Linked DNA regions of Homo sapiens: all the other regions are linked to region 1. The links are contacts of gene promoters, found by promoter capture Hi-C in blood cells and fetal thymus (Javierre and others, 2016). All regions are on one chromosome and are shown on one strand. The core of a region is centred on a gene start or on the middle of the fragment in contact, and the rest is flanking DNA. Distances in the headings are between cores, read along the strand shown. Region 1 holds the start of KLF4 (KLF transcription factor 4). Region 2 has its middle 41 kb from the start of ACTL7B. Region 3 has its middle 320 kb from the start of ACTL7B.

What was found. Contacts are between HindIII fragments. The CHiCAGO score rates a contact against its expected background, and 5 or more counts as called.
Region 2: a contact is called between a fragment that was not itself captured here and the fragment with the promoter of KLF4 in region 1, in 1 of 17 cell types (M0 macrophages). The highest score is 6.2, in M0 macrophages.
Region 3: a fragment that was not itself captured here is called in contact with the fragment with the promoter of KLF4 in region 1 in 2 of 17 cell types (naive B cells and M1 macrophages); the score reaches 6.1 in naive B cells.

Annotation. Positions count from the first base shown.
Region 1 is chr9:107,487,926-107,491,409 of GRCh38, reverse strand. KLF4 (KLF transcription factor 4) reads left to right here and starts at 1,641. Exons shown (of 5, transcript NM_004235.6): 1 at 1,641-2,242; 2 at 2,360-2,480; 3 at 3,143-3,484. The coding sequence starts at 2,238. RefSeq lists silencers at 1,360-1,569, 1,929-2,128, 2,780-2,829. The HindIII fragment of the contact is 11,219 bases long and covers 1-3,484 here.
Region 2 is chr9:108,813,625-108,817,108 of GRCh38, reverse strand. No RefSeq gene overlaps it. Among named protein-coding and RNA genes, the nearest start is that of ACTL7B, 41 kb to the left of the region's middle. The HindIII fragment of the contact is 2,268 bases long and covers 676-2,943 here.
Region 3 is chr9:108,533,402-108,536,885 of GRCh38, reverse strand. No RefSeq gene overlaps it. Among named protein-coding and RNA genes, the nearest start is that of ACTL7B, 320 kb to the left of the region's middle. The HindIII fragment of the contact is 1,404 bases long and covers 1,237-2,640 here.

The DNA of each region.
Region 1 (3,484 bases), core at 392-2,891:
AGAAGATGAGAGCAAAACATTTCCCAGCTGGAAAATTACTGATCACAAACCAAGGGGAGAGTGGGGGTGGGGGAGGCAGCGTTATAAGATTGAAGTAAAGATCGCCGTTTCCTATTCCCTTCCCGGTGGGCAAGGACGCCTGCGGCGGGCTCGGTGTGCACTTTTTGAGAGCTAGGATCCCACCGCATCGCTCCACTTCCTGGCACATGGTCACTTCCCAGGGAAGTCCCTTTAGGGGGGCCTGACCTACCCGGAGCCTGAGCCGAAGGAACGAGTTGTCCTTTGACCTTTACTGGCCATTTCACCTCTTTATGACTCAATTTCTCATCCATAAAGTGGAAAGGAGAGTGCGTGGCTTGAAAAGTCATCAGTGAGTGTTTAATTCTTCTTTAATGGGTGTCTTCTATTATTATTATTATTCTACAGTGCAATTTAGTCATCAAATATTACAGGCAGTGGCTCACGCCTGTAATCCCAGCACTTCGGGAGGCCGAGGCAGGCTGATCACTTGAGGTCAGGTGTTCGAGACCTGCCTGGCCAACATGGTGAAACCCCGTCTCCACGAAAAATACAAAAATTAGCCGGCGTCGTGGCGCACGCCTGTAATCCCCGCTACTCGGGAGGCTGACGCAGGAGAATCGCTTGGACGCAGGAGGCGGAGGTTGCACTGAGCTGAGATCGTGCCACTGCATTCCAGCTTGGGCGACACAGCGAGACTCTGTCTCACAAAAAAAAAAAAAAGAAAGAAAAAAAAAGGAAAGGGCTTCGAGATGGCTGGTTGAAAACTGTCTCCGCGCCTCACAGTCCCTCTTCTCTCCCTTATGCCTCTGAGTAAATCTTGAGCCCTTTCACTCCCTTTCTCGCTATTTAAAGTATCAAAACCATAACTCCCCATTCGTGCCTCTTTCCGCCTGTTCCCGGCGGAACACTCCTCTGGCCTTCTCTTGAGGCTCCCAGTTCACGCTGCACAGTGCTGGGCACTGCCTCCTCTCCACACCCCTAGCGCCCCCCACCCCTCAGCAGAAGGGCCCGCGAGGAACCGTGCGAGGTCAGGCCGAGCGCCGGCACCGCCACCGGCACTGGCGCTGAGCGACGAGAGCGGACTCCTGCGAGCGCAGAGAGGGAGGGGGAGATGGAGGGCTGGATGAGTCACGCGGATAATCGCGCTCTTCTCCAGCGCGCAGACAGCGCGGCAAGCGCGTATGCTAGCAGGGGTGCGGACGCGTGACCGTGCCGCCCGCTGACCCCACCAGTCTTCGCGGGCTTCGAACCCAGGGAGCCGACAATGGCGGTGAGTACGGCCCTGGTCGCGCAGCGACCGAACCTGCGCCCGGTTCCTCGCGCCCCGCGCTGGGGCGGACGCCGCCGCCGCCGCCGACACCACTGCCGCCGGCGTCAGCTCGGCTCCAGCCCGCCAGCTGCCTGGCTGGCGTCACGGCCCGGCCCAGCCCCGCCCGCGCCCCTCCTTCCCCTCCCCCGCCCCCACGTGCGCCGAGTTTGTTGATTTAGCTGCCATAGCAACGATGGAAGGGAGCCTCGGGGGGGGCGGAGAGAAGAAAGGGAGGGGCGGGGCATGGGAGAAGGCGGAGGAAAAGGCTGTAGCGAAGGAAGTTATAAGTAAGGAACGCGCGCCGGCGGCCGGCAGTTTCCCGACCAGAGAGAACGAACGTGTCTGCGGGCGCGCGGGGAGCAGAGGCGGTGGCGGGCGGCGGCGGCACCGGGAGCCGCCGAGTGACCCTCCCCCGCCCCTCTGGCCCCCCACCCTCCCACCCGCCCGTGGCCCGCGCCCATGGCCGCGCGCGCTCCACACAACTCACCGGAGTCCGCGCCTTGCGCCGCCGACCAGTTCGCAGCTCCGCGCCACGGCAGCCAGTCTCACCTGGCGGCACCGCCCGCCCACCGCCCCGGCCACAGCCCCTGCGCCCACGGCAGCACTCGAGGCGACCGCGACAGTGGTGGGGGACGCTGCTGAGTGGAAGAGAGCGCAGCCCGGCCACCGGACCTACTTACTCGCCTTGCTGATTGTCTATTTTTGCGTTTACAACTTTTCTAAGAACTTTTGTATACAAAGGAACTTTTTAAAAAAGACGCTTCCAAGTTATATTTAATCCAAAGAAGAAGGATCTCGGCCAATTTGGGGTTTTGGGTTTTGGCTTCGTTTCTTCTCTTCGTTGACTTTGGGGTTCAGGTGCCCCAGCTGCTTCGGGCTGCCGAGGACCTTCTGGGCCCCCACATTAATGAGGTAGGTGAGGCGCGCGGCGCTGGGAGCAGGGAGGGGTGAGGACCGGTGGGACGCGCCGGAACGACGGCCGAAAGCCGCCCCTGACTCTCCTGTCTCCGCTCCCTGCCTTGCTCGCAGGCAGCCACCTGGCGAGTCTGACATGGCTGTCAGCGACGCGCTGCTCCCATCTTTCTCCACGTTCGCGTCTGGCCCGGCGGGAAGGGAGAAGACACTGCGTCAAGCAGGTGCCCCGAATAACGTGAGTATCGCTCCGGGCCGCCGGGAACGCCCGGTGGGTTTTCGTGGGTGTGGTGGGGGCGGGCGGAGCCTTGGGGTCACCAAGAGCCACTGAACGAGGGTAAGGAGCGGCCACCGCGCGGACTCCGCAACCTTCCCGGGATAGCTTCCGTGTCCTTGGCTCAGCTGTGTATGCCCGTGGTGCGAGCACTGCGGAGCCGCCTGGGGCGCAAGCCGGGTCTTCACCAGTCCCCGGGCGCGCTGTCGGTAGGGCGGGCGCTCTCGGGCCACCGGGCGGGAGGTGGCCGCGTCCCCAGACACTGGCTGGGCCAGAGTGAGTTTAGCGCGTAGGCGGCCCCGTGGCGAGAGCGCACCGAGAGAGCCTCGGTGTGCCAATTCCGGGGACGTCCACGGGACCTGGAGGGGGAGGGACCAGCCGCGGCGCTCGCTCACACGCAATTGGGCAGACAGGACATAACACCCGCAATACAGACGCATCACCTCTTCTTCGACCCGGGAGTGGGCCGAGATTGCAGCGCTGGCGCCCTGGGTTCCCGGGTGCTTCCTGCCTGACCAGTCCCCATGTCTGGGCGGTGCAGTCGCGCGTGGCCCGCCAGCACGTCAGTATGTCGGGTGGCAACAGGGGACCACCACTGACAGGTCTCTCCCGCCCTGTCCCCGCAGCGCTGGCGGGAGGAGCTCTCCCACATGAAGCGACTTCCCCCAGTGCTTCCCGGCCGCCCCTATGACCTGGCGGCGGCGACCGTGGCCACAGACCTGGAGAGCGGCGGAGCCGGTGCGGCTTGCGGCGGTAGCAACCTGGCGCCCCTACCTCGGAGAGAGACCGAGGAGTTCAACGATCTCCTGGACCTGGACTTTATTCTCTCCAATTCGCTGACCCATCCTCCGGAGTCAGTGGCCGCCACCGTGTCCTCGTCAGCGTCAGCCTCCTCTTCGTCGTCGCCGTCGAGCAGCGGCCCTGCCAGCGCGCCCTCCACCTGCAGCTTCACCTATCCGATCCGGGCC
Region 2 (3,484 bases), core at 560-3,059, 1.3 Mb before region 1:
TTACATAAAAGTTAGTATACTATGCATATCATCTTATAGCATGCTTTTATTCAACAATGTATATTGTCAGTCTACCCATATTAATACATATAGCTCTGTCACATTCTTTTGAACTGCTGCATAGTATTCCATTAAATGGATTTCCCAGTTTGTTTTTTTGCTTGATAGACATCCATTTTATTCATTATGGTAAACAAGGCCTCAGTGAACACACTTCCTTATGCCTTATCGTAGACATTGGCAAAATGCTTCTCTAGAGTAGATACTTGGAAGTGGAGTTATATTTCTTGTAGAATCCTCTAGCAAGAAATAAAAGGAAGAGGAGAGACAGAAATTAAACCTAGAAAGTTCTAGGGTTGCAGTTAAGTTGGGGCTAATGGGGAATGGTTGTGGGGGTAGTAGGTGAGGTAGAAATGCTAGAGGATTTAAAGCCTTGGAAAGTCTTTGGAAAATCTTATATAGCAATGATGTCATCTTTGAAACTCAGGGACATCTGGGGGACATTCATTGGTTATTATTTTCATGCTTTGGGTATAAAAAAAGCAACTTTTTTACTTCATCCGAGATAGAAAGGAAAAGGGTGTAGAAAAGGGAAGCTCAGTGGGCTTAGGAATGTAATGGAATTTAGAGATCATCTGGTTAAGCACCTTCACTGTTCACATGGGAAGCAAAGCTTCCGAGGGAGACTTGATCCAGGTTCCATATTGAGTTAGTGGTAAAGCTGGACCTCCAGCCCTAAGTGCTGACATATCTTAGCCCAGCTGTAGGAGGGAGAAAAGCAGAAACAGGAAGGAGATAGCTTAGTCCAACTAGGGGAAGTGGTGGGGGCGGCGTGGCGGGGGGGCGCCACACAGGCACGGAAGCAAACAGCATTGCCGCCCACTCGGCCCCCGGCAGCTCACTCTTCCTTTCTCCAGATTCCTGCGGACTTCTTTCTTCAGCAGCATCAAAGAAGTCCAAAAAGGAAAACTAAACAATCCAAATTACAGGATAGAGAAAAAGACCCATTTCCATGTAAATGTTAACCATTCTGCAGCAAAACAAACAGTGGAAATAATGAGGCTTTGGTTTGGATCTGCAATGTGGAAGATGGACCTTGCTTATAAATAGTCTTTAAACCAACAAGTAGAGCCGCAGTAATTCTGTCTTGGAGGGTAGAGGGATGGGGACTGAACACATCACCCTAAAGCAGCTATTCAAAAAGTGTTTCAGGTCCCCTCGCAGTAATTAATAATAATAATAAATTTCAGGCAACAAAACAAACAAAAGGAAACAACAAAAAGCAGGGTTGGATCATTAAAACAAAAAAGCTGGGTACTCCAAAGACTTCTCACAGCGGCCAAGTTATGGAAATGAGATTTGAAACTGTGCCCCTCCAGGATCTTGTCCACTTGTACAGCATAAATCCTTAAATCAGCCTGCCCACCGTAGACTGGATGCCCTTTGAGAGTGCAGCATCCTGGAATGCTGTCTTCTGAAAAACAAATAAAAGATACACAGTTGAACCATATGAAAGTGCCAATATTTGACTATTCTGACTTACCAAAAATAAATAAGTAAAAGCAGCACGTTGAAGGGATTCAATGTAATTTACGCAGGCCCTCAAAAAGACAGTGTCTTTATCACTGTAAAGTCATTGGACAAGCCCCCTCCAGGCCAAATATCAGCAGACAGGCACAAGAGTCACCTGGGTGATTGCCTTAGAAGCCCAGTAGTACTCCAGAGCAAGGTGCACCTCCTCCCTGTGTTGGGATACCTGGGATGTCTTTTACACAGGCACATTCCTGAGTGACTCACCCCACTCCAGTCCTGAATCGGCATTTCTGGAGTGGGCCTGGGAACCTGCATATTAAACAATCACCCAGGTGACTCTTGTGCCTGTCTGCTGATACTTGGCCTGGAGGGGGCTTGTCCAATGACTACAGTGATAAAGACCCTGTCTTTTTGAGGGCCTGCGTAAATTACATTGAATCCCTTCAATGTGCTGCTTTTACTTATTTTTGGTAAGTCAGAATGGTCAAATATTGGCAATTTCATATGGTTCAACTGTGTATCTTTTATTTGTTTTTCTTTAAATTTCAACTGAGCTCTGGAAAATAAGTTTTCTAGATCTTTGATTGGACACATTTGGGGTTAAGAGATTTTTCCAGGTGCGAACATCAACTGACAAGTTTAGGAGCTATTTCAGGGAATACCTTTGAATTCTTCTTTCCATTTGGAGCCAGGAAGTTCAAAGAAACATTTATGGCGTAGCAGGTCTTCAGGTTTTAAAGGTAATTGTATTGTTATTTATGTTTTTAGATCCAACCTCTTTTTAGGATCATTACAAACACCGTGAGAGGGGTTTCTCCCCACATTGCAGAAAAGGATTTGAGTAAGGTAGGCATGTTTGACCTCTTCTGGAATAAGGTAAGGGGATCAGTCAACCAAGACAAAACTCTCAGTGGTGAATTGGTAGGGCCAGGATCCCATACATAGCAAATGGGAAAATTAGACTGTGAACTTAAGTCTTTGGAAATAACCTGGTGCTGTAAAAAAGAGTATAAATGAAATCGAATTTTGGCCTAAATTAGAGCTGCCACTTAGTAGTTAGTTGCATGATCTTGGTCAAATGCAGCAACCTCCTCCAGTTCTGTGTCTTGCAGAGGTGGGCTGGGGGTACTGTTCTTGGGGGAGCTGAGTGAGACCCTCAGTGCCACGCATGTCCATAAAAGGTGCTCAGTAGTTTATTACTAGTGAATTTTAGCCTGGAGGTTTTTCCAAAGATGCACAGCAGCCTCTTGAGTAAGAAAAGAAGAAAAGCTGCAACCCTTCCCTCTGCCCCTAATCCCTTCACACATAAAACTGCCCTGGGGCATTTACCCTCCAAGGGATAATTCCTGGTTGAAAGTAAAGCTGGCACAGCTACTGTGGGCACCAGCAGGTGCCAGTACAGGCTAAGCTTTCAGAAGGGTTGCCTGGCCTGACTTTATCATTTTTTCTGTCTCTCAGTGTGACTCATGAAAGCCCAGACTTCCTTTCCTTTCATCCAGAGTGATTTCTGTCTCATAGCCTTTTGTTTGTTTGTTTACATAATATGTCCACATAACAATCTCATAGCCTTTCTTGCTTGCTATTCTGAACCTGGGAAAAAATGCTCAGGGTTTGCACTGTCAAATATCAAGGAAGAAGAAAGATCTCTTATTTTGGAGATCTTCGTAACAAAACTAGTAAACAGCAGTGGCTACTTTTGGGCAGCACTTCACAGTTGGCAAAGTACTTTTGGATTCATCAGTTCACTGAATATTTTGCGAAGCCCTGGCAAGACTGTGTGATGGCTAAGGGCTGGGCTCTGAGGTCTGCAGATTGCCTTCAAATTCCCATCTTCACCTCTTCCCAACTGAATCATCTTGGGCAAGTATTATAATTTGCCATCACTGAACATCATAGATTTAAGTGGAAAGTACTAAAATAGTAGCAATAAGAGCTTAATAATTGTTAGCTA
Region 3 (3,484 bases), core at 689-3,188, 1.0 Mb before region 1:
GGTAACTATTTTTGTTTATTACTGGCAGTCACAGCATGTAGTGGGAAGTCAGTAAGTGGTGAATGAATGAATGAGTGAATAAATGAATGAATACCCATTTGCTATCATAGATGGCCATATTATCCATGATAGGCTCAGCTTCAACATTCTGTTTCTGCCTGTACAATTTTGGTTGTTAGGCCTTCTGTCCTAATTTGAATTTCAGAAAGTATAGCTACCCTGACCCTAGCACATAAAAGATGCTTAATATATTTCTGTGACTGCTAATTAAATAAATGAATCCAAAGCTTGGTAGAAGGGTGATGCTGGGTTGAGTAACACACATTAGAGGAATTTTTTTTTCCAGCCAAAGCTGACAGTGGTGTCTCCTCAGGTACAGGTGTACACATTTCAAAAGGGCTGAGGTACAGGAGTACACATTTCAAAAGGGCTAGTCAAAGGTGGCCGAGACCTGCTAGAGGTCTGTATATACTATATCAGCAAGCAGTAAGAAAGATCTTCCCAAACCTGTCACTCAAAGCTACAAAATTTTATCTAAAGACGTTGCCATCAGTGTGGAAGCCTATTGAAATGGAACATAAAGTTTTCTTTTAAGAGGTAGAAAAAAATAACTGAAGAGTAATTATTTCCTCTCGTCATATTTGTCCTCTTTAAAAAGATATTGGTCATACCTCCAGTTTACTGAATAAAGAAAAACAGCTGTCATTTACAAAGCACATCCACATATAGCAGGTTATTTTATTGTTAAAATTACATACGAGAATGGTATTATTCCCTTTTTATACAGAAGAGGAAATTGAGACTGGTACTCTGAAGGATATTATGGCTATGGTATTAGCCAGGATTGGCTAGGTTATGCTGTATTAACAAGAACTCCAAAATCTCTGTGTACAACAAAGATGGATTCCTTCTTGCCCATGGGATTTGTCCACTGTCAGTTTGCTAGGGGACTCTGCACCATGCCTGCTTACTTGGGGACCCAGGTTGACGAAGAAGCTACCATATCAAATGTTGCTGGTCATCGCAGCTGAGTGAGAGTGTGAACTCTGGAGGGTCTCACACTGGCAATTTAATGCCCTTGCCTGGAAGTGATACAGACCACGCCTGCTTGTACCTCTTTGGTCAGAACTAGTCCCATGACCCTACCCAGCCACAAGGGGGCCAGGAAATGAAATGCTACCAAGTGAATTTAAGTATAAAATCCAATGTGTAATTTTGTCCAGCTAGATAAAAGCTTCAGTGTTCACTCAAAATCAGGATGTTTATCTTCAAGGAGGGCTTTTGGTTGTTCTCATGGTGATGTTTGATGGAGACCCCAAGCCCTACATTGACTCTTGGCATCCCTATGCCTAGGACCATGAACATTGCTGTTCTGCCTTTTAGCTAAATCAATCACAACAGTATTCTGGCTTCTTACAGTCACCCTCCTAAAACTCAGCCTCCATATGTAGCCAGAGTGATCTTTATAAAACACCAAGATGGCTATAGTTAAAACTGTTTAACCATTTTCTGTTTTCCGAAGAATAAAATACAAAAAGGATGCTTCATGATCTTGTTCTCCCTGTGTCTTCTGTCTTCTGTCTTAACTTTGACTTTGCTGGTTATTCGCTTGTTTACTGTCAGATGCTCTCTTTGCCCTTTTTTGCCCTGCTCTCTATTATAAGGAACTACATTTTCCAGGCTTCTTTGCTCTCTGGCTTCTCAGTTGGTTTGGTCGATAGGAGGACAAGAAACTGGCAGAAGACTGGAGGGCAGGACGAGGTGATAGTCCAGGGTATTTCTTCCCTCATCTCTGCTTTGGGTAGCAGCTCCAGCATTAGCTTTGTCCCTCCAAGACTCCAGCCCCTGTTGGACAGGGCTATCATGGTTCCAGTGTCTTTCTTCTGATCCTGGCCCCTGTGCTCCCTTCAGCATTGGGTGTGTTAGAAGTTTCCTGCTGTTACTAATCTATGAGTAACTCACCACCGTTGTGTGGTTTCTCAGCTATGTGTATAAATGATTTCCTGTATTAAATTCCCTCTGTTTGAATACCTAGAGTGGTTTCTGTTTTCTGACTCTAATTAAACAGTCCTGGACTCTAATCAGTTTTTATTATACATTTGGTAGGTTTATCTACAAGGACACAGATTAAACTACCATTAGTTTGAACATTCTTGCTCTGGTATTTTAACTAGAACGGACTCATATATTGCTGCAAAAAGCATGTAAAAGACCCTCCTGAACAGTGACTCCCCCACCCCCTGCCTCTCCAACATAATATTACCACTTATAACCTCCTGGCTCTTAGATTCCCCTGGCCCCACATTTTGCCTTCTGATACCATTCTCAGATTCTACTTAATTTGGTGGATAGTTTGGATCTCTCAGTCTGCCTTCTGGAACCTCAGTTTGCATGCTTTATTGATTTTAGTAAACCCACAGCTCTGAGACTTTAGATCTATGATTTAAGGTGATGCTTCCACCACTTGGACCTCTCAGGACCCATCCAGCCTCCCATTAGAAGAGAAGAACCAGACATTCAAACATATAAGACTCTTTCATACTCGCATACCTTCCCACATGCTGTTCGTTTCACCTGGGGTCCTCTTCTTCCTTCTCTACCCAGTATGCTTCCCTTGTTCTTCAAGACTTAGATCAAGCTTCACATTTTCTTGGAAATCTTCCCTGAGTTTGGCTGAAGATGGTTCAGATTGATGTTTCAAGGTTCTCTGGACTTAGGCTATAAGATTATCTTGCAGTTGATGGTTTACTTGCCTATATTCCCCAGTAGGCTTTGTGCTTCTTAGAGGAACTGTATCTTTGTTATTACCTCATTCTCTATGCCATTCATGGAGCCTGATGCCAAATAAGTTCTAAGAATGGAGAGTGATCAAAGCATGGTTGAGAGGTTAGCCTGGGAAAAAGCTGAAGTAAAGAATGACCATCTTTCCATTCCGCTTACTCAAATATAGCACTGTGCCATGTCTAATTGGAGAAATTGGACCCTGTGAGGCATGTCATGTTGATTTACCTGCAAATTGTATTCCAGATAGTTGAGCCATATTAAGCTATTGATCAAGGTGTTTAAGATTCTGATGAAAACCTACTAAATACAGCAGCTTTTTTTTTTTTTTTTCAGACGAATTCATACAAAGTTTCATGCTCCTGGCAACAGCAGTTCAACACAGCTAACCACATCTCAAGACCATTTGGTCTAAATAAATTTGAGTAAAATCTAGCCTGTCAGTTTTTCCAAGAATTAGTTGTATCTTTTTTGTTGCTTTTGGATAGCTGTATAAATTGTGGTTTTTCTTTTCTGTCGTAGCTTTTGATTTTGACAGGTCATTGTTTATGATTTGGAAGGTCTCATTGGTAATGTACCTGTGGGATGCTTAATTATGAATATTTAAAATATGAGCTTTCAGTTCATGGGGATCAGTGATTGTTTTGTGATTTTTTTCTCATTACATCCCATTAGCATCACATCCAAGATGGGGCAGCTCTTA